Linked DNA regions of Homo sapiens: all the other regions are linked to region 6. The links are contacts of gene promoters, found by promoter capture Hi-C in human tissues and cell types (Jung and others, 2019). All regions are on one chromosome and are shown on one strand. The core of a region is centred on a gene start or on the middle of the fragment in contact, and the rest is flanking DNA. Distances in the headings are between cores, read along the strand shown. Region 1 overlaps TRAPPC10 (trafficking protein particle complex subunit 10). Region 2 overlaps PWP2 (PWP2 small subunit processome component). Region 3 overlaps TRAPPC10 (trafficking protein particle complex subunit 10). Region 4 overlaps TRAPPC10 (trafficking protein particle complex subunit 10). Region 5 holds the start of LOC124905031 (a long non-coding RNA gene). Region 6 holds the start of AGPAT3 (1-acylglycerol-3-phosphate O-acyltransferase 3). Region 7 overlaps TRAPPC10 (trafficking protein particle complex subunit 10).

The links. Contacts are between HindIII fragments. The study calls those that stand out against the background at their distance.
Region 1: a fragment that was not itself captured here is called in contact with the fragment with the promoter of AGPAT3 in region 6 in 1 of the 25 tissues and cell types used here (dorsolateral prefrontal cortex).
Region 2: a contact is called between a fragment that was not itself captured here and the fragment with the promoter of AGPAT3 in region 6, in 6 of the 25 tissues and cell types used here (IMR-90 fibroblasts, dorsolateral prefrontal cortex, hippocampus and 3 more).
Region 3: a fragment that was not itself captured here is called in contact with the fragment with the promoter of AGPAT3 in region 6 in 1 of the 25 tissues and cell types used here (lymphoblastoid cells).
Region 4: a contact is called between a fragment that was not itself captured here and the fragment with the promoter of AGPAT3 in region 6, in 1 of the 25 tissues and cell types used here (dorsolateral prefrontal cortex).
Region 5: a fragment that was not itself captured here is called in contact with the fragment with the promoter of AGPAT3 in region 6 in 2 of the 25 tissues and cell types used here (dorsolateral prefrontal cortex and spleen).
Region 7: a fragment that was not itself captured here is called in contact with the fragment with the promoter of AGPAT3 in region 6 in 1 of the 25 tissues and cell types used here (dorsolateral prefrontal cortex).

The regions. Positions count from the first base shown.
Region 1 is chr21:44,075,003-44,077,702 of GRCh38, forward strand. TRAPPC10 (trafficking protein particle complex subunit 10) reads left to right here. Exons shown (of 23, transcript NM_003274.5): 9 at 37-151; 10 at 1,550-1,626; 11 at 2,691-2,700. Among named protein-coding and RNA genes, the nearest start is that of PWP2, 31 kb to the right of the region's middle. The HindIII fragment of the contact is 7,831 bases long and covers 1-2,700 here.
Region 2 is chr21:44,112,725-44,115,424 of GRCh38, forward strand. PWP2 (PWP2 small subunit processome component) reads left to right here. Exons shown (of 21, transcript NM_005049.3): 3 at 1,029-1,123; 4 at 1,455-1,554; 5 at 1,901-2,044; 6 at 2,540-2,675. Among named protein-coding and RNA genes, the nearest start is that of PWP2, 6.7 kb to the left of the region's middle. RefSeq lists an enhancer at 1,264-1,558. The HindIII fragment of the contact is 8,457 bases long and covers 1-2,700 here.
Region 3 is chr21:44,023,037-44,025,736 of GRCh38, forward strand. The region is part of intron 1 of TRAPPC10 (trafficking protein particle complex subunit 10); the gene reads left to right. Among named protein-coding and RNA genes, the nearest start is that of TRAPPC10, 12 kb to the left of the region's middle. The HindIII fragment of the contact is 6,881 bases long and covers 1-2,700 here.
Region 4 is chr21:44,058,821-44,061,520 of GRCh38, forward strand. It overlaps TRAPPC10 (trafficking protein particle complex subunit 10), which reads left to right. Exons shown (of 23, transcript NM_003274.5): 6 at 283-394. Among named protein-coding and RNA genes, the nearest start is that of PWP2, 47 kb to the right of the region's middle. The HindIII fragment of the contact is 7,991 bases long and covers 1-2,700 here.
Region 5 is chr21:43,709,800-43,712,499 of GRCh38, forward strand. It overlaps LOC124905031 (a long non-coding RNA gene), which reads right to left and starts at 2,476. Exons shown (of 2, transcript XR_007067895.1): 1 at 1,556-2,476; 2 at 917-1,239. RefSeq lists enhancers at 1,342-2,223, 2,289-2,700. The HindIII fragment of the contact is 7,963 bases long and covers 1-2,700 here.
Region 6 is chr21:43,863,875-43,866,574 of GRCh38, forward strand. It overlaps AGPAT3 (1-acylglycerol-3-phosphate O-acyltransferase 3), which reads left to right and starts at 1,349. Exons shown (of 10, transcript NM_020132.5): 1 at 1,349-1,471. RefSeq lists silencers at 408-767, 1,318-1,667, 1,788-2,107. The HindIII fragment of the contact is 11,781 bases long and covers 1-2,700 here.
Region 7 is chr21:44,042,177-44,044,876 of GRCh38, forward strand. All of the region lies in intron 3 of TRAPPC10 (trafficking protein particle complex subunit 10), which reads left to right. Among named protein-coding and RNA genes, the nearest start is that of TRAPPC10, 31 kb to the left of the region's middle. The HindIII fragment of the contact is 7,203 bases long and covers 1-2,700 here.

The DNA.
Region 1 (2,700 bases), core at 121-2,620, 210 kb after region 6:
GGCAAATTAATTGAAATTGTGGATTTATCTTAACAGTTAAAGTCCTTGGGCTATCTATGTGGACTTGTGTCAGAGAAAGGACCTAACTCAGAAGATCTCAACAGGACAGTTGACCTTTTGGCAGGTTTGGGAGCTGAGCGACCAGAAACAGGTACTTTTTTGTATATACCTGTGTGAGTGGTGAGGTGGACAGTAATGAAAATGTCCTTTGCAAGTTGGCACATTTAACCGAAGTTCTAAGAGTAATCATATTACTCACCATTTGGAAAATTATACCCATTGTTAGCTGACTGGATTAAAGCACATGATAGTTTACCTTTTAACAGCATAATGCAATATTAGAAATAGTTGAAGAAATTGGAAGGAGTTTCAGAAATGTAGCTGAGTTTCTCCTGGGCTTAAGGGACTTTATAGCTCATGTTCAAATGCACCACTGTCTCTCTGAATTACAGATGATCTGTTTTTCTAACAATACGACCTGACGATTTTTTTTTTTTTTAAGAGACAGGGTCTCACTCTGTTGCCCAGACTGGAGTGTAGTGGCACAATCTTGGCTCACTGCAGCCTCGACCTCCTGGGCTCAAGGGATCCTCTTGCCTCACCCTCCCAGGTAGCTGGGACTACAGGTGTGTGCTACCATACTTGGCTAATTTTTTAATTTTTTGTAGAGATGGAGTCTCGCTGTATTGCCCAGGCTGGTCTCAAACTCCTGGCCTAAAGTGATCCTCCTGCCCTGGCCTCCCAGCAAATTTTTTAAAATAAATTGGCTGGGCACGGTGGCTCCCACCTGTAATCCCAGCACTTTGGGAGGCCGAGGTGGGCGGATCACCTGAGGTCAGGAATTCGAGACCAGCCTGACCAACATGGAGAAACCCCATCTCTACTAAAAATACAAAATTAGCCGGGTGTGGTGGTGCATGCCTGTAATCCCAGCTATTCGGGAGGCTGAGGCAGGAGAATCGCTTGAACCTGGGAGGTGGAGGTTGTGGTGAACAAAGATTGCTCCATTGCACTCCAGCCTGGGCAACAAGAGCAAAACTCTGTCAAAAAAAAAAAAAAATTCTCCTGGATAATAAGGCTCTTTGAAAGGAGGATTACTCATTGTTTTACGTAGGAATATATGATGAGTATTATTTAGCAAGACTGTTGCTAAAGAATATCTGATGAGCTGAAAACATTCTTAGTAAATTGAATAAATGTTTAAGGGAAAAAATACGTAGTATTTATATTTCATTGTTTCAACTTGAGACCATTTCAGATCACTTCGGAAGTAATTTAATTCATCGGAGTATTTGTAATATATGTTTCTAAAAAAGTTTAGTTCTAAAGATCAGAGAAAAAGCATGACACAAAGCGTTTTGACTATTTTATGAATATGTGAATTGAAAGAGAATGTACATAATCATGTAGTTTCCGTTGGCATTGGCCGGTTTGTAATTTCACAAGAGTCAGATGAGGTCATCTACCTGCAGTATGTGAAGGTGAATGTAAAGTCATGTGACTGGACATGATGAAGATGAAGAGGGACTCTCGTTTCTTTCTGTTTAAGCCAACACAGCTCAGAGTCCTTATAAGAAACTGAAAGAAGCATTATCGTCAGTGGAAGCTTTTGAAAAACACTACTTAGTAAGTATTAACAAGTGTTCAATGTCTGTTCTGTGAATACCTGTCTCTAGAAGGCTTTGCTACATGGCCTGTTGAGTTGGGAAGGAACTGGTGTGGGGGGCCCCTTCTTGTTGGTTTTTTTTAGTTTCTTTGGTACCTGGGGAGTTGTGGACAAAACATGGAGTAGTTCATCAAATGTGTATTAGTGCCCATGGTACCATGCTAGGCATGGAATCATCTTTGAATATTTACCGTTTTGTTCAAATTGGGTTTGCTCACACAGAAATTATAAGAGAGGCTAGTGAATACTTTTCTTTGTAAAAAGGAGTAATTTGGACTTGGGCAGAGCTATTGTATTTGATTTTGAAAGACTTAAATTAGCAAAACTTTAAAAAACGGCGTAGGCAGAAGTGTGGTGGGTCAGCGTCATTCCCGGGTCATGGGCAACTTGAGCGTTTGGTCTGCCCGTAATGGCTGTACCTCTTATACACACAAGTATGAAAAATACCCAGCATGTCACCCACGTGCAGAAAGTCCTTGGAAAAGTTAGATGTTTTGGATGAGTTTGTGGGTTTCTTTTATTATTATGCTTCATAATTTATACACAGGTTACCAATTTTGCTTATATATTACAGAAAAATTCACAAAAATAGATGCAAAGGAAAAAATAATGTTACATTATTAGCAATGTCTTCTGCGGGCTGGGCATGGTGGCTCACGCCTGTAATTCAGCACTTTGGGAGGCTGAGGCAGGTGGATCACTTGAGGTCAGGAGTTTGAGACCAGCCTAGCCAACATGGTGAAATCCTGTCTCTGCTAAAGATACAAAAAATTAGCCGGGCCTGGTGGCGCCTGTAGTCCCAGCTACTTGGGAAGCTGAGGCACAAGAATCACTTCAACCTATGAGGCGGAGGTTGCAGTGAGCTGAGATCTCACCGCTGTGCTCCAGCCTGGGCGATGGAGCAAGACTCTGTCTCAAAACAAAAACCCAACAATGTCTTTTGTGTGAGCTTTAGGTGAATAAATGTAGTATTTGTCCATCATTAAAAGTTCAAGTACATAATTGTGTTTTTACTTCCCCACAGGATTTGTCCC
Region 2 (2,700 bases), core at 129-2,628, 250 kb after region 6:
GTAGCCCCTTATTTTCCATTTTTCTAGCAACAGTGTTACATGGGTGCACTGTCATGGTGGTTAATTCCTGTTGGGCACTTAGCTTGCTTCTGGTATTTTGATGTCACACTGAGGCGGAATAATCCTCTCATCATATCATCCTGGAAGCAGAATTGATGTATCCAAAGCCCATTTTTAAGGCTTTTAATGCATTTCACTAGAGTTCCTCCAGGGACAACGTCATTTCTTTTTCTTTTTTTTTTTGAGACAGAGTCTTGCTCTGTCACCTAGGCTGGAGTGCAGTGGTGCGGTCCCAGCTCACTGCAACCTCTGCCTCCCAGGTTCAAGCGATTCTCCTGCGTCAGCCTCTTGAGTAGCTGGTATTACAGGCGCCCACCACCACGCCTGGCTAATTTTTTGGGTTTTTTTGTTTGTTTGTTTGTTTTGAGGCAGAGTCTTGCCCTGTCGCCCAGGCTGGAGTGCAGTGGTGCAACCTTGGCTCACTGCAAGCTACACCTCCCGGGTTTACGCCATTCTCCTGCCTCAGCCTCCTGAATAGCCGGGACTACAGGCGCCCGCCACCACACCCGGCTAATTTTTTGTATTTTTAGTAAAGACGGGGTTTCACCGTGTTAGTGAGGATGGTCTCAATCTCCTGACCTCGTGATCCGCCCGCCTTGGCCTCTCAAAGTGCCGGGATTACAGGTGTGAGCCACCGCGCCTGTCCAATTTTTTGTTTTTTGTTTTTATAGTAGAGACGGGGTTTCACCATGTTGACCAGGCAGGTCTCGTACTCCTGACCTTATGATATGCCCGCCTTGGCCTCCCAAAGCACTAGGATTATAGGCGTGAGCCACCGTGCCCGGCCAACAATGTCATTTCTTTTTCAGGAGTGGGGGGTATCCACAGATGAGCTCTGGCTTGTGGGGTCCAGTAAGATTGGAGGCGCTACTTGGGGAGGGTGAGCCGCTGGTCCCAGGCCAGGCCTGGCCTGTCTCCCTCATGTGACTTGAGGACCAACAGCACACTGTGGTTTTTGTCTTTATCAGCAACAAATCTGACACGCTGCCCCTGGCCACTCGGTACAACGTCAAGTGCGTGGGGCTGTCCCCGGATGGCCGCCTCGCTATCATCGTCGATGAAGGTACTTGCCCTTGATGTGGGCGGGTACTGAGGGGACCAGTGAGGAGGACTCAGGGCTGTGTGGGTCTGAAATGATCCGCTCCCCAGTCGCCTCCGTGTTGGGGCCCGGGTGGGGATTGGGGATGAGGGTGTCATGGGCGAGGCTGCGTCCCCGCCGCAGGCTGTGTCTGTGGCATCACCTGTGGCAGGGCAGGGCCTCATGGCCCTTGGGCATTCTCAGTCCTGACTCCTCACAGTGGACGCGAGAAAGACCTTTCTCCGTTTTTCCCGTGCTATGTATCTGGGGTGGCCCCTGGGGTAGCTGCGCGGTGGTGACCTCTGGCGTCCTGCAGGGGGCGATGCGCTGCTGGTCAGCCTGGTCTGCAGGTCTGTGCTGCACCACTTCCACTTCAAGGGCTCTGTGCACAGTGTGTCCTTCTCCCCTGATGGCAGGTAAGGGGGACAGCTTGGGGGCAGGAGGGTTCGGCCGTGCATGCCGACGGTGAGGCCCACTGCCCAGCTCGTTTCCCTGGGCCCCGGGTTGTGACGTTGGGTTGGGCACACGGCCCAAGCTCTGGCATTGGTGACCCCCTTTTCTGGAGGAGAAGGCTTGGTGCGGCCAGGCTGCCCTCCCTCCAGGGCTGTTTCTTCCCTGACTTTTGCTTCCTCTGCTCCTTGGCCTCCATCCTGCAGGAGGCGGGACTCCAGAAGGCCCAGGTGGGTGCAGGCTGAGACTCCACAGTGGCCTTAGGGCCATTGCTGGTCTTGAATATCAACTATGTCCGCGTTCCTTCCATAGGAAGTTTGTTGTCACAAAGGGTAACATTGCCCAGATGTATCATGCCCCTGGGAAGAAGCGGGAGTTCAACGCCTTCGTTCTGGACAAGACCTATTTTGGGCCCTACGATGAGACCACCTGCATCGACTGGACGGATGACTCCAGGTGCGGCCTCAGAGGCTTCGGGGGAGCGGGGCTTGAGAGAGGCCCCTTGGACAGGTCACCCCCTTGGGCCCTGCAGCTTCGTTCCGCAATGGCATCTCGGCCTCCTTTGGGGCTGGGCGCTGCCCACACCATCAGGACTGGCTGGGTGGCTGTGGTCGAGTCTTTGCGGCTCTGAAGTGTGTGCTGTGGCCGAGCCTCCTGCCCCTGCACTGCCCTTTCACCTGTTTGTCCCAGAAACTGGGAATGCTGTGGTTGGCTCGGGCAGCGTCTGGGAGGAGTTAGGAAGGCAGACAGGGCAGGGACAGCGTCTGGGAGGTGTGAGGAAGGCAGACAGGGCAGGGGCTGTGCCGGGGTGTCTTCCTGTGCCTGGAGGCGTCTCAGCTCACTCTGAGACCACGTGGGGCTGTAGCGGTCTCCGTGCAGCCCTCTGGAGCTTGCACCTGGCTGCTTTGTTATGGCCAAGCCCTGAGGAGGTGCCATCTCCCTCTTTTCCAGGTGCTTTGTGGTTGGGAGCAAAGACATGTCCACCTGGGTGTTCGGAGCCGAGCGCTGGGACAACCTCATCTACTATGCACTGGGGGGACATAAGGATGCCATCGTGGCCTGCTTCTTTGAATCCAACAGCCTGGACGTATGTCCCTTTGCCAAGTTCCCTA
Region 3 (2,700 bases), core at 23-2,522, 160 kb after region 6:
TTTTTTTTTTTTTTGAGACAGAGTCTTGCTCTGTCGCCCATGCTGGAGTGCAGTGGCTCCATCTTGGCTCACTGCAAGTTCCACCTCCCGGGTTCACGCCATTCCCCTGCCTCAGCCTCCCGAGTAGCTGGGACTACAGGTGCCCGCCACCACGCCGGGCTAATTTTTTGTATTTTTAGTAGAGATGGGGTTTCACCGTGTTAGCCAGGATGGTCTCGATCTCCTGACCTCGTCGTGATCCTCCCGCCTCAGCCTCCCAAAGTGCTGGGATTACAGATGTGAGCCACCGCGCCCGGCCTATGTAACCATTTTCAAAGTGAGTTGGTTCACTGGCATCTTTCAGAGGTGATCGGTTGGCGTGTTTTTGTTGTTCGTTTAGTATGGCTGTGAACTTAATCATTATGAACATACTTGATGTGTTACAGTCCATTGCATTGTTGCCTCGTTGGTGAGCAGGTTGTTCTCCCTTTGGCCAGGGAGAGTCTCTTTCATGTTGGGGTCTAAGATAGAGGCATCTTTGTCAGATTCTTTCCTATCTAGCCTGACAAGATGTTCCGGGCTCATTTTGAACATTTAATGCCCTGATCTGCACTTAGCAATTGCCAAGGAGCCCTGATTCCTTTTAGTGAAAAATAGTATTTCAAGACCATAGTCTGCAAGCTTGGGCTCCTAGTTGCTGTGAGGCCTTTTCAATAGGCAGAGCTAGGAATAGCTAGGCATTTTTGTTTGTTTGTTTTTTGTTTTTGTTTTGTTTTGTTTTGAGACAGGCTCTTACTCTGTTGCCCATGCTGTAGTGCAATGGCACGATCTCAGCCCACTGCAACCTCTGCCTCTCAGGTTCAAGAGATTCTTGTGCCTCAGCCTCCCGAGTAGTGAGTAGCTGGGATTACAGGTGCATGCCATCACATCTGGCTAATTTTTATATTTTTAGTAGAGACAGGGTTTCACCGTGTTGGCCAAGCTGGTCTCAAATTCCCGACCTCAGGTGATCCACCCACCTTGGCCTCCCAAAGCATTGGGATTACAGGCGTGAGCCACCGCACCAGCCTAGGAATTGTTCTTTGTTTTTTGTATTTTTAAGATAAAATACATCATAAGTTCACTCTTTTTGATGAAAACTCAGGGCTGCAGGGTTTTAATTAACAGCTCCATCCTCTGTGTTTTCTCTTTTCCACACTGAAAATCCTAATTCTCATGGGTACTTGAGGAGGCTAGAGTTAGAGGTTCCCCAGCTCATGCTGCTTCAGTCACCTGGAGGGCTTGTGGACACACAGATGGCTGGGTCCATTCCCCATTTCTGATTGAACAGGTCTGGGTGGGGCCTGAGAATGAGCATTTCTAACAAATGCCCAGGTGGTGCTGATGCTGAAGGGCCAGGGGCCACTGAATAGAACATCACACGATTGCTCACTTGCTTTCAGTTGCTTTATCCCTCATTACATAGACTCTGAATAACACTATTAACTCCACCATCAACAACAGGACTAGTGAACACAGGTCTAGAACTGTTTTTGACAGTTCTTATTGGCATTTGGATGTATCCCATAAGGAATGAACAGTCAAATTACTGTAGTTTTAAAGTTACTTGTCATAGCTCCTCTCTCTGAGATTATACCACTAAATGTATATGTATACATTTAAGTTCACTTGTTTTATTTTTCCTGATTATTTTTAGGGAAAACCTTGAAAAAATCTAATTGCTTTATAACTATATAAAATATTTACTTCCAAAATTAAATCTACAAAATGAGGTCTATTTAAAGAAGCCTTGTGTATGTTCTGTCCTCTCCATGCTAACTCCTCCCTTCCTGAGTACTCCATCACAGTTTTTATGGTTTTCCTTCCACGTGAAAAACATCCAAACATATTTGTATTTCCCTTTCTTAGCTTAGACATTGCCAGCTGCACACACTGTCCCACCTCACTTTCCCCCGGACTCCACTCCACGCTAGGAGTATGTTGAGATCATTCTCATTCCATGATGTCGATATTCCGTGGTTTATTCTGCCAGTCCCCTCCTGGTGGAATTTGAGTTGTTTTGTGTTTTACTGTTTCCAGTAGTTGTGCACAGATAGCCTGTCTGTGGCCTTTCCGACGGGCCTGTTGGGATGGAGCCCTGCAGGGCGGGTTGCTGGGCTGAGGCAAATGGTTATGTCACTGTGCTGATGCTGCCTCAGCTCCCTCCTGAGTGCTTGCACCATTGGGAAACTGCCTGTAGGCCTCGCTGAGAAGCCAGCCCTTGAACAAAGCCAGTGGCAAAGGGGAAGTCTGGGGAAAGACCAGTTTGGGAACCCTTCTGTCTAAAGCCTTAAGGCATTGGGGTGCCAGGAACAGGAGTGTCTCTTTTTAACTTGTAAATACAGTACTGTGGTTCAAACTGCTACAGTAATGCTGTGTTTATTTAAAAAATGTATACACTGTTAAAGGCTGATTCCTCAGTATTCTTATATTCAGATGCATTTATCCAGTCTTTTTGTTTTTAAACTCTTGAATTTTAAGTTTGCTCTCTGAGGGCTAGAGAAGGCAACTTGTTTCCTTGATTAGAAGAGTTCATTCAACTTCTTAACATTCTTGGCCTGTGTGTTCTTGTCTTTTAAGTTAAAACAGAAAAAGACTGGGACTTTCTGTCTTTTGACTAGTCTTTACGTGTAGTAGTTCCTTTTCTGCAAATTTCCACAGTAGGAAACTTGATGAACACTA
Region 4 (2,700 bases), core at 9-2,508, 190 kb after region 6:
CCTGGACAGCAGGAAACATCCCAAGGACAGGGGGGTGACCAGTTATATCTGGTGCTGCCGATAGGTCGGGGAGGGTTCAGAAATTACCTTAGCTTTTCCTAGCTTCTTGTGCATGCGTGAATGTTGACATATGCGGTCGTCACATTGGTTGTTACTTAGCGGAGCGTAGACATTATTCATAGTGCTGCGTGCCTTTCTCTGTCGTTTAATGGCTACATACTGTTTCTTCTATACATTGATTTATGTTTTTGTTTTTTTAAAAAACGTATCTTGGGCGAATAGGAGGAGCTTGCCTTTGTTTTCGAGATGCTGCAGCAGTTCGAGGACGCCCTGGTGCAGTACGACGAACTGGACGCCCTCTTCTCTCAGTATGTGGTCAACTTCGGGGCCGGGGGTGAGTAGTGGCACTTCAGTAACGCATGCTTTTCTTAGTGTGGCTTTCTCCAACTTCAGATAGGCTTGAAGCAGCCATTTATTTACCTCAGGAGTACGCATGTTTTGTTGTTGTCTTTATACACATTATATCGGATATATTCTCGTGATTCCTAGAGGAAATGAAATGAGAATTAAGAATTAGTCATTTTCACTTTTAGAAGAATCTTAAGTAACAAAAATAATAATAATTTAAAAAAACTGTTTTCCAGGTATAAAATGTCCTTTCCACAACTCAGTGGCCTGCTGGTGATGCTTCGATTCTGTCCCTCGTTAGAATCAGAGTGGACGTCCCTTTGCCTTCCATCCAGGGGTTATCTTTGGAATGCTCGAGTGCTCATTGCTGTGAACTTATAAAATGCCCTTGGGTGTTCATCTTTCTTTTGCACTTTTAAATAATATCTTAAGCTCCTTTACAATTAAAGAATTAGCACAGTGAAACCATACACAGAGAGAAACATTGGTTATTGTCCTCAGTGTTTTTCGCTGATACTTATTTTGATGAAAGTGATACCACGTTATATAGCTGTTTCTCTGTCGCTCCTTTTTGTTACTCACAGCCCATCCTGGGCATCTCTCCAGGTTAGCAGGTGGGGTTTGGAGTTGTTTTTGTTACAATTGGTATTCCTGGCTTGATTCCATTACCTGGTGTTGGACATTGGGTTCTTTTATGCTTCTTGCCACCACAAGCAGTGCTGTAGTGGGCATCTCTGCCAGGTGTTCTTTTTGAGAACCCTTGTCACCATGTGTGAAGGAAGGAGTAATTTTGAGGAGCCCTGGTGTCAGCAGGAGAACCTGGAGGGAGATGAAGTGTGGGGACGGTCAGTTCTAGCTGTGAGCACTGTCCTCACTCTGGAACTCATCAGTGGCGCCGATGGATACTGGCTCATAGTGCTTCTGAAGATCAGGTCTGGATATCTCACTCTCCTGAGATGCCAGTATAGACACAGAACCAAAGCAAAGTGTTTACTAAGTAAAAAAATAAAATAAAAAAACACTTCTATTTCTTATATTTTATGTGTCTTTTTTTTTTTTTTTTTTGAAATGGAGTCTTGCACTGTTGCCCAGGCTGGAGTGCAGTGGCACAATCTCGGCTCACTGCAAGCTTTGCCTCCCGGGTTCATGCCATTCATGCCATTCTCCTGCCTCAGCAGTGGGACTGGGACTACAGGCGCCTGCCACCACGCCTGGCTAATGTTTTGTATTTTTAGTAGAGACGGGTTTTCACCATGTTAGCCAGGATGGTCTCGATCTCCTGACCTCGTGATCCGCCTCAGCCTCCCAAAGTGCTGGGATTGCAGGTGTGAGCCACCATGCCCGGCCTTATGTGTCCATATTATACAAACATATCTATTTATTTATTTTTGAGACAGTGTCTCACTCTGTCCCCCAGGCTGGAGGGCAGTGGTGTGATCTTGGCCCACTGCAACCTCTGCCTCCAGGGTTCAAGCGATTTTCGTGCCTAAGCCTCCTGAGTAGCTGGGATTACAGGTGCATGCCACCATACCTGGCTAATTTCTATATTTTTAGTAGAAACGGGGTTTCACCATGTTGGCCAGGCTGGTCTCGAACTCCTGGCCCCAAGTGATCCTCTTGCCTCGGCTTCCCAAAGTGCTGGGATTATAGTTGTGAGCCACCATGCCCAGCCTATACATACATACATACACACACACACACACACACACACACACACACTTTTTTTTTGAGACGGAGTCTTGCTTTGTTGCCAGGCTGGAGTGCAGTGGTGTGATCTTGGCTCACTGCAACCTTCTCCTCCTGATTTCAAGCGATTCTCTTGCCTCAGCCTCCCAAATAGCTGGGACTACAGGTGCGCACCACCACGCCCAGCTAATTTATTTATTTATTTTAATTTTAATTTAATTTAATTTTATTTTATTTTTTGAGACGGAGTCTTGCTCTGTAGCCCAGGCTGGAGTGCAGTGGCGCCATCTCGGCTCACTGCAACCTCCGCCTCCCGGGTTCACGCCATTCTCCTGCCTCAGCCTCCTGAGTAGCTGCGACTACAGGTGCCCGCCACCAAGCCCGGCTAATTTTTTTTTGTATTTTTAGTAGAGACGGGGTTTCACCGTGTTAGCCAGGATGGTCTCGATCTCCTCGTGATCTGCCCACCTCAGCCTCCCAAAGTGCTGGGATTACAGGCGTGAGCCACTGCGCCTGGCCAATTTTTTTATTTTTAGTAGAGTTGGGGTTTCACCTTGTTGGCCAGGCTGGTCTCGATCTCTTAACCTCGTGATTCGCCCGCCTCAG
Region 5 (2,700 bases), core at 200-2,699, 150 kb before region 6:
AGTGTTCTGGACTTCAGCCATTGTAAGCAGTGCTTAGCGATGTTTCATTGTTTGAATTTGTACTTTTCTCATGGCATGGCGTTCAGAACTTTCCATATGTGTATTTGCCATTTGTATATCTTCTTTGGTGAGGTGTCTAGATCTTTTGCCTATTTTTTGGTTAGGTTGTTCCCTTATTGTTGAGTTTTAAGAATTCTTTCGCCAGTTGTGGTGGCTCACACCCGTAATCTGAGCACTTTGGGAGGCCGAGGCAGGCAGATCACTTGAGCTCAGGAGTTTGAGACCAGCTTGGGCGACATGGTGAGACCTCTTCTCTACAAAATAAAAAAAGAGTACAAAAATTAGCCCGGCATGGTGACACACGCCTGTAGTACCCGCTACTCAGGAGGCTAAGGCGGGAGGATCACTTTAGCCCAGGGGACAGAGGTTGCAGTGAGCTGATGTGTGCTACTGTACTGCACTCCAGCCTGGGTGGTAGAGCAAGACCCTATTTAAAAAAAAAAAAAGGAAAAAAGGCTGGGCGCAGTGGCTCATGCCTGTAATCCCAGCACTTTGGGAGGCTGAGGCGGGCGGATTACTTGAGGTCAGGAGTTCGAGACCAGCCTGGCCAACATGATAAAACCCCATCTCTACTAAAAATACAAAAATTAGCCGGGTGTGGTGGCAGGCGCCTGTAATCCCAGCTACTCGGGAGGCCGAGGCAGGAGAATCACTTGAACCTGGGAAGTGGAGGTGTCAGTGGGCCAAGATCACGCCACTGCACTCCAGCCTGGGCAACAGCAAGACGAAAGAGAAAGAGAGAAAGGGAGAAACAGAGGAGAGAAAACAAAGGAAGGAAGGGAAAGAAAGAAAAGAGAGAAGGAAAGAAAGAGAGAGAGAAAGAAAGAGAGGAAAGAAAGAAAGAAATCCTTGTATATTTAGGACTCAAATCCTTTATTGATGTTTTGTACGATTTAAAGATTCCTTTGGTGGTGGGACGCAATACAGTGACACTCAGCTAGAGGAGAGGCAGAAGCCTGTGTATTGATGTTTTATAAGATCTAAAGATTCTTTTGGTGGTGGGACGCAATACAGTGACACTCAGCTAGAGGACAGGCAGAAGCCTGTGTGACTTACAGCTCTAACAAGAGGCCGCCGCCAGGCAGGGTCACACGGGGGATTGTGCCTCGGACGTCAGTGGACTGGACACAGCCCAGGAGAGAATCTGCAAGCTGAGGACATGTCCATAGACTTCCCCAACTGAAATGCAAGGAGAAAAAAGAGTAAAAATAACTGAACAGAATATCCTAGAACTACGGGACAATTATAGAAGGTAATTTACACACTCATAATGGCAATACCAGAAGAGGAGAGGGAGAAAGGGATAGAAGAAATATTTGAAGTAATAATGGCTTCTCATTTTTCAAAATTGGTGTCAGACACCAAACCACAGATCTAGGAAGCTTAGAGAACACTAAGTACAACAAATGCCAAAAAATAGGAACTTTGGCATGTCGTATTCAAACTGCAGGAAACCAGAGACAGAATATCTTGAAAGATGTCGGAGGGAAAGTACCTTCCTATAGAGGAACAAGAATACGGATCACACTGGACTTCCATCAAAAATCATGTGATCTGGGTACTGGAAGCTACATGTAAAGAAGAAATTCATGCTCACGCCTGTAATCCCAGCACTTTGGGAGGCCGAGGCGGGCGGATCACGAGGTCAGGAGATCGAGATCATCCTGGCTAACACGGTGAAACCCCATCTCTACTGAAAATACAAAAAAATTAGCCAGGCGTGGCAGTGGGTGCCTATAGTCTCAGCTACTCGGGAGGCTGAGGCAGGAGAATGGCGTGAACCCGGGAGGCGGAGCTTGCAGTGAGCCGAGATCGTACCACTGGCACTCCAGCCTGGGCGACAGAGACTCGGTCTCAAAAAACAAAACAAAACAAAAACCCAAAAGAAGAGGCACCTGAGCCGCTTGCTTGAGCCTGCTCCCACTCTGAAATGTCTTCAGTAAATCTGTGCTTTCCTTGCTTCTCCTGTTGCTTTCTCTTTCATGGCTTGGCTCTTTTGTTACTTTGTGCATTTTGTTAAAGCATCCCCCGCTAACTAAGACACCGCTCAGGGTCGGGCACAGTGGCTCACACCTATAATCCCAGCACTTTGAGAGGCCGAGGCAGGTGGGTCACCTGAGGTCGGGAGTTCAAGATCAGTCTGACCAACACGGAGACCCCATCTCTACCAAAAATACAAAAAAAAAATTAGCTGGGCGTGGTGGCACATGCCTATAATCCCGGCTACTCAGAAGGTTGAGGCAGGAGAATCACTTGAACCCGGGAGGCGAGGGTTGCGGTGAGCCGAGATCACGCCATTGCACTCCAGCCTCTGCCCAACAAGAGCGAAACTCCGTCTCAAAAAAAAAAAAAAAAAGAAAGAAAGAAAAAAAAAAGAGACACCGCTCAAACTTCTGGCCAAACACAAATCCTGAATGACTTTTAACATCCTTTATGGTAATTAAGGAACCCTGTGGTGCTGGGAGGCAGTTGCTCAAACAACCTCTGGGCATGGTCTGCTGGCAAGGGCATTTCATTTGCCGCCAGGGTGTGGACGGACATTTATTTACACAGTCATACCTGAGACAGAGTAGGGACGGGCTGGCTCGGTTAACCCCCCACTAGAGCATTCTCTCATGCCTTCCACGGATCACACACCCC
Region 6 (2,700 bases), core at 99-2,598:
AGGTGGGAGAATACTTGAGCTCAGGAGTTCGAGATCAGCCTGGGCAACACCGTGAGGCCCCATTTCTACAAAAAAAATTTTTTTTAAATTAGCCAGACATGGTGGTGTGTGCCTGTGGTCCCAGCTACTTGGGAGGCTGAGGTGGGAGGATCACTTGAGCCCTGGAGTTCAAGGCTTCAGCGAGCTATGATTGTACCACTGCACTCCAGGGTGGGCGACAGAGCAAGACCCTGTCTCAATAATAATAAAAATAAAAAAAAAAAAAAGGAAAAAAAGGGGCACAGTAGACAGTACCAGTACTTGGTATTTTAAATGGTTTTCAAATGAAGCCCACCCAAGCTCAGCAAGTCCAGCCGGGGCCTGAGGACCTGAGCAGGCGCCAGGTCACACAAGGTACCGGGCGCAGGAGGCGGAGCCCGCAGCGGGCCCTGCCCTGACAGCGGCACCTGCGCGGCCTCCGCAGGTTCTGGGATCGGCCGCTGGCCAGGTGCAAGGGAGGGGGGACGGCAGCCGCTGTCCTGGGGCTGAGAGGGCTCCGCGGTCTGGAGGGGACGGCGTCAGCGCCCGCGGGGGTTCGCAGGGCAGCCCCGGGGCGACCCCCACCCCCGCCACGGTCAAGTGTCGATACAGTGTTGCCAGCCGGGTGCCAACTATGAATAAGTCCAAGGGCGCGGCACGTGGGCCGAAACGCGATCCTTCCGCGGAGCCGCTGCGCGCAGGGCCGTCCCCACCGAGCCCGCCGCGCGGCGACCCCTGACGGCGACCCTAAGCCCCGGCCGACCAGGGCAGGAGCTCGCGCGCGAAACTTCCCCGGCGCCCGCAGGAGACCCCGGCAGGGGAGATGGCGGGGCCCAGGCAGAGCTCGGAGGCCCCTCCCGGCCCCACCCCGCGCCCCGGCCCCCTCTGCCCCCGACCCGGTCCGGGGGAGCCCTCGCGGGACCCCAGCCTGGTCCTTCGCCGCCTCCCCCCGTTCAGCCCCGACCCCCCTGATCCCCGCGCCCCCCGCGGTCCCGGCCCGCCCCCTCCCCCAGCCCGGGCCCCAGCCCCGTCCGTTAGCGGATCCCACGCAGGCTCCGCGCCCGGCCCCGCCGGCGCCCTCGGCCCACACCTCTCTCCGCGCGCGTGTCCCGCCGTGTCGCCCCCGTGTCCCCTCCGCGTCCCCCCCCGCGCCGTCCCCCCGCGTCCCCCCCCGCGTCCTTCCCCCGTGTCCCCCCAGCGTGTCCCTCGGCCGCCCCGCGCGCGCCGGCGGAACTGTGGGATCGCCGCGCACAGGAAGTGGCGGCGGCGGCGCGGCCGAGGGCGGAGGGCGGAGGGCGGCGGGATGGGGGCCGGGGGCGGCGGGCGCCGCACTCGCTGAGGCCCCGACGCAGGGCCGGGCCGGGCCCAGGGCCGAGGAGCGCGGCGGCCAGAGCGGGGCCGCGGAGGCGACGCCGGGGACGCCCGCGCGACGAGCAGGTGGCGGCGGCTGCAGGTGAGCACCGAGGCCCCCACCCGAGGTCGGGCCGCCCCCCTCTTCCCCCACGCCCCGCCGCCGCCCGAGGTCGCCCTCCCGCCGCCGGAGGTCGCCCCTGCCCCAGCCGTCCGACCTCGGGCCGCCCGGGGCCCCGCGCCGCAATGGGCCGGCCGCGCTCCGCGGGGCGCGGGGCCTGGGAAGGCGCGGGGCCGGGAGGAGGTCTGGGCCCGGGTCCTGTGCGCCCCCCGCAACCCCGGCCTCCCCGGCGGCCTGGTCCAGCGCGAGGCCCCGGCCGCTTCCCGCAGCAGCCTCGGTGGCGCTGGGCCCAGCGGGGAGGCCCGGGGGTTCGGGGCGCCCGGGAGGGGCCCGGGCCGGGCCGAGGGAGGGCGAGTGGGTTCCCGCGGGGACGTCCCATCCCTCCGTCCTGGACTCTGCTCCGGGCCCCGCTCGGCTCCCCCGTGGACAGGACGCGCCCGCCGCCTGGTTTCGGGGCGCGGCGGACCCGGGACCCCCCCCAGGGGCCTCCTCCTCGCGCGCCCAGGCCAAGGGAGCAGTTTCACTTTTGCCGCTCCGCGCGGGGAGGGCTGCGGGGCCCGGGGTTGGCTGTGGGTTCGGCCCGGAGACCGGCGGCGCGTTTGCACCGGGCGGGTCAGGGGATGGGGTCAGTCCGGGGGCAAGAGCCGTGGGGGCGAAAACCCACTCCTGGCCACCCCAGGACCCTTGGAACATTGGTCCCAAGTACTTAGGAAAGGAGGGTTATTAGTATTTGAAGGCAGTTAAAAATGGTGCAGTGTTTTTTTTTTTTTTTTTAACTTTGAGAGAAGTTTAGTGACATGGGGAAAATGCTTTTATAAATGGCTTCCCAGACCTTTAAAAAAAAAAAAGCACAATTTTAAAAGCTTTGTCTAGGAGAATACTTGAGCAGTTGGGTTCTTTTTCCTGGGAAACATGATCTTAGTAGAAGAAAGATGTGGGCTGTTGGCCTCCAGACAGAGGGTGATGAGCATGCGGCTCTTATTAAAAATGAAAGCCAACGCCGAGAGCCTGCTGGGGGCTGGGAGGTGGGGCGGGCGGCGGGCCCAGGCTGCTAGAGGGACCCAGGATCCTGCAGCTTTTAAATTGCAGGCGCGGCTGCTCCGACTCGACTCGCTTAGGAATTGCTGAACTTCGTCTTCTCAGTTTGAAAGCTTCAGAGGGGTCTCCCGAGGATGCTGAGCACTCTCTTGATTTGGCCACTTCTTTGCCGC
Region 7 (2,700 bases), core at 80-2,579, 180 kb after region 6:
TTCTTCTTTTTGTTTTCTCATGGTTTACTTTGTTCATTTTTTAGTTTTCGGGCGTTTGAAATGCATTTATTTTCATTCTTAAATTTTTATTGATATAGGTCTTTAAAGTTAGGAATTTTTCTCTGGTTACTACTTTAAATATATCCCATTGTTTTATCATTATTTTTCAGAAATTCTCTATTTTTGATTTGTATTTCACCCTTTCATTAAATAGTTGTTTAACAGAAAGCTTTTTAGCTTACAGAAAAAAAAAGATTAAAAAAATTTTGTTTAGAAATTTCTAGCTTTATTGCATTGTGTTCAGAAAGTGTTTATATTTTTGCTTTATGAAACTTATTTTTAAAATTTTATGAATTTGACTGTTGTGTGACCTAATAAATGATCAGTTTTTTTGGACATTTCATGTGTGTTTGAGAATGTATTTTCTGTTTCCAGATTGTAATGTTAAATATCCACAAGACCTATCTTACTGCTTGTGTTGTTTAGGTCATTTATATTTTGAATTTTGTCCATTTGACCTATCTTTAACTGACAGTGGTATGGTAAAGTCTTCTGTTAGTGGTGTGTTTCTGTTTCTCTTGCATCTCCTGTAGTTTCTGTTTTGTATAGGTGGTTGATGTATTATTTGGTGCTTAGGTGTTTACAACTTACAGTTTTTATGGAGTGAAATATGTCATTTACAGAATGGCTTCTGGGCAGTGTATCTTGCTTAGGGAGGCCTTGTCTGTCTGAAGAGAACTGATTTTCTGTATTTTATTTTAATAATTTTGTAATTTATGTCTTATATTGGGACCCGTATAGCTTCAAATTATTTATATATATTAGGAGCTCTGGGAGTTGAGGGTCTAATTTTACTGTCTGAATGCATAGCAAATTGGCCTAACACCATTTCATAATAGTGTGTCTTTTCTCCACTTACTGGGAATGTCACCTGTATTTTAAACCAACATCCTGTATGCACAATATTCTAGACACTTTGGTTCTATTGATCATTGTCTATCCTGTGCCAGAATCAGACTTTTAATTATTACGCTTTTTTTTTTTTTTTTTTTTTTGGGATGGAGTCTTACCCTGTTGCCCAGGCTGGAGTGCAGTGGCTTGATCTTGGCTCACTGCAACCTTTACCTCCCGGGTTCAAGCGATTCTTCTGTCCCAGTCTCCTGAGTAGCTGGGACTACAGGCGCCCACCACCACCCCTGGCTAATTTTTGTATTATTAGTGGAGACGGGGTTTCACCATATTGGCCAGGCTGGTCTCAAACTCCTGACCTCGTGATCCACCCGCCTCGGCATCCCAAAGTGCTGGGATTGCAAGCGTGAGCCACCGTGCCTGGCCTATTACACTTTTATAATATGTATCAATATCTTTCTTTTAAAATAAACCTTGTGGCCATCTACATTTTCCCTTCCACATGTCGAGTGTCCAAATTTATTTTCTGAAGATGGCTGTAGCAGCATACCCATCCCACATGCTCCTCTCTATGTGACAGTGACTTTCCCTTGTTGAAAGGCTGGGCCTGTGTTTCCTCCAGTTGAATCTGGGTGGGCCTCTGACTGTGGCAGAAGCAACACTGTGATACTTGAGAGGAAGTCCTAAAAGATAACGTGCCTTCTGCTGGATTCTCTCGGGGTGCTTGTTCTTAGATTCCAGCCACCATGCTGTGGGGAAGCCAAGCAGCCCCGTGGGAAGGCCACTCGCAGGTGTTCAGCCTGCCCCAGCTGAGTCCCACTGTGTGTTTTAGCTCCCAGCCTCAACACGCCACTGACACCAGGTGGAGCAGAGACCTTGGTTCCCACCAAATCCTCTCTCAGTTGTAGATCCGTGAGCAAAAGAAAGTTTTACACCACTATAGCTTGGAGTGGCCTGTTACACAGCAGTAGATAACTGGAATATCAGTTGAAAAAGAGAAGGCTGGAGGCATTTTGATTGGGATTGCCTTGAATAAGTTGTTAATTCATTTGAGAAGAATTTTAATCATGAGTCTTCTTGAATCAGGGAATGTGGTATGTATGTTTTTCCATTCTTTATGACTTTTTTCTGCCCTTATTTTTCGTAAAAGTTTTACATTTTTATTGTTAGCTTTAGCTTTTGTGGCCATTTTGAATGAGACTTTTTTCCTTAAAATTACATTCTAATAGCCTTTTTTTTTTCAAATCTTGATTATCGTCTATTTAAAAAAAGGAGTAAGTTGATAATATTGAGGATTTTAGATTTAAAGTAAAACTCTGTTATGTTGAATAGTTGCTTTAGGACTTATAGAGTACATCTGTAACAGCATAATTCTTCCTTCAAGTAATATGAATTATATTACTTGATGCGTGATATAAGAACTTTGGATCATTGACTTCTGTTTTCTCCCTCCCAGCCTTTGTTATTGTTGTCATACATTTTCTATACTTGTTAAAACCCCATAGTACATTGTTACTATTTTTTGCCTTAAACAGTCTGTTATGCCTTGGAGAGATTAAAATAGAAAATCATGTCTTTTTTTTTTTTTTTTTTTTTTTGAGACAGAGTTTCGCTCTTGTCCAGGCTGGAGTGCAGTGGGGTGATCTCAGCTCACTGCAACCTCCGCCTCCCAGGTTCAATCGATACTCCTGCCTCAGCCTCTGAAGTAGCTGAGATTACAGGCGTCTGCCACCACGCCTGGCTAATTTTTTATATTTTTAGTAGAGATGGGGTTTCTGCCATGTTGGCCAG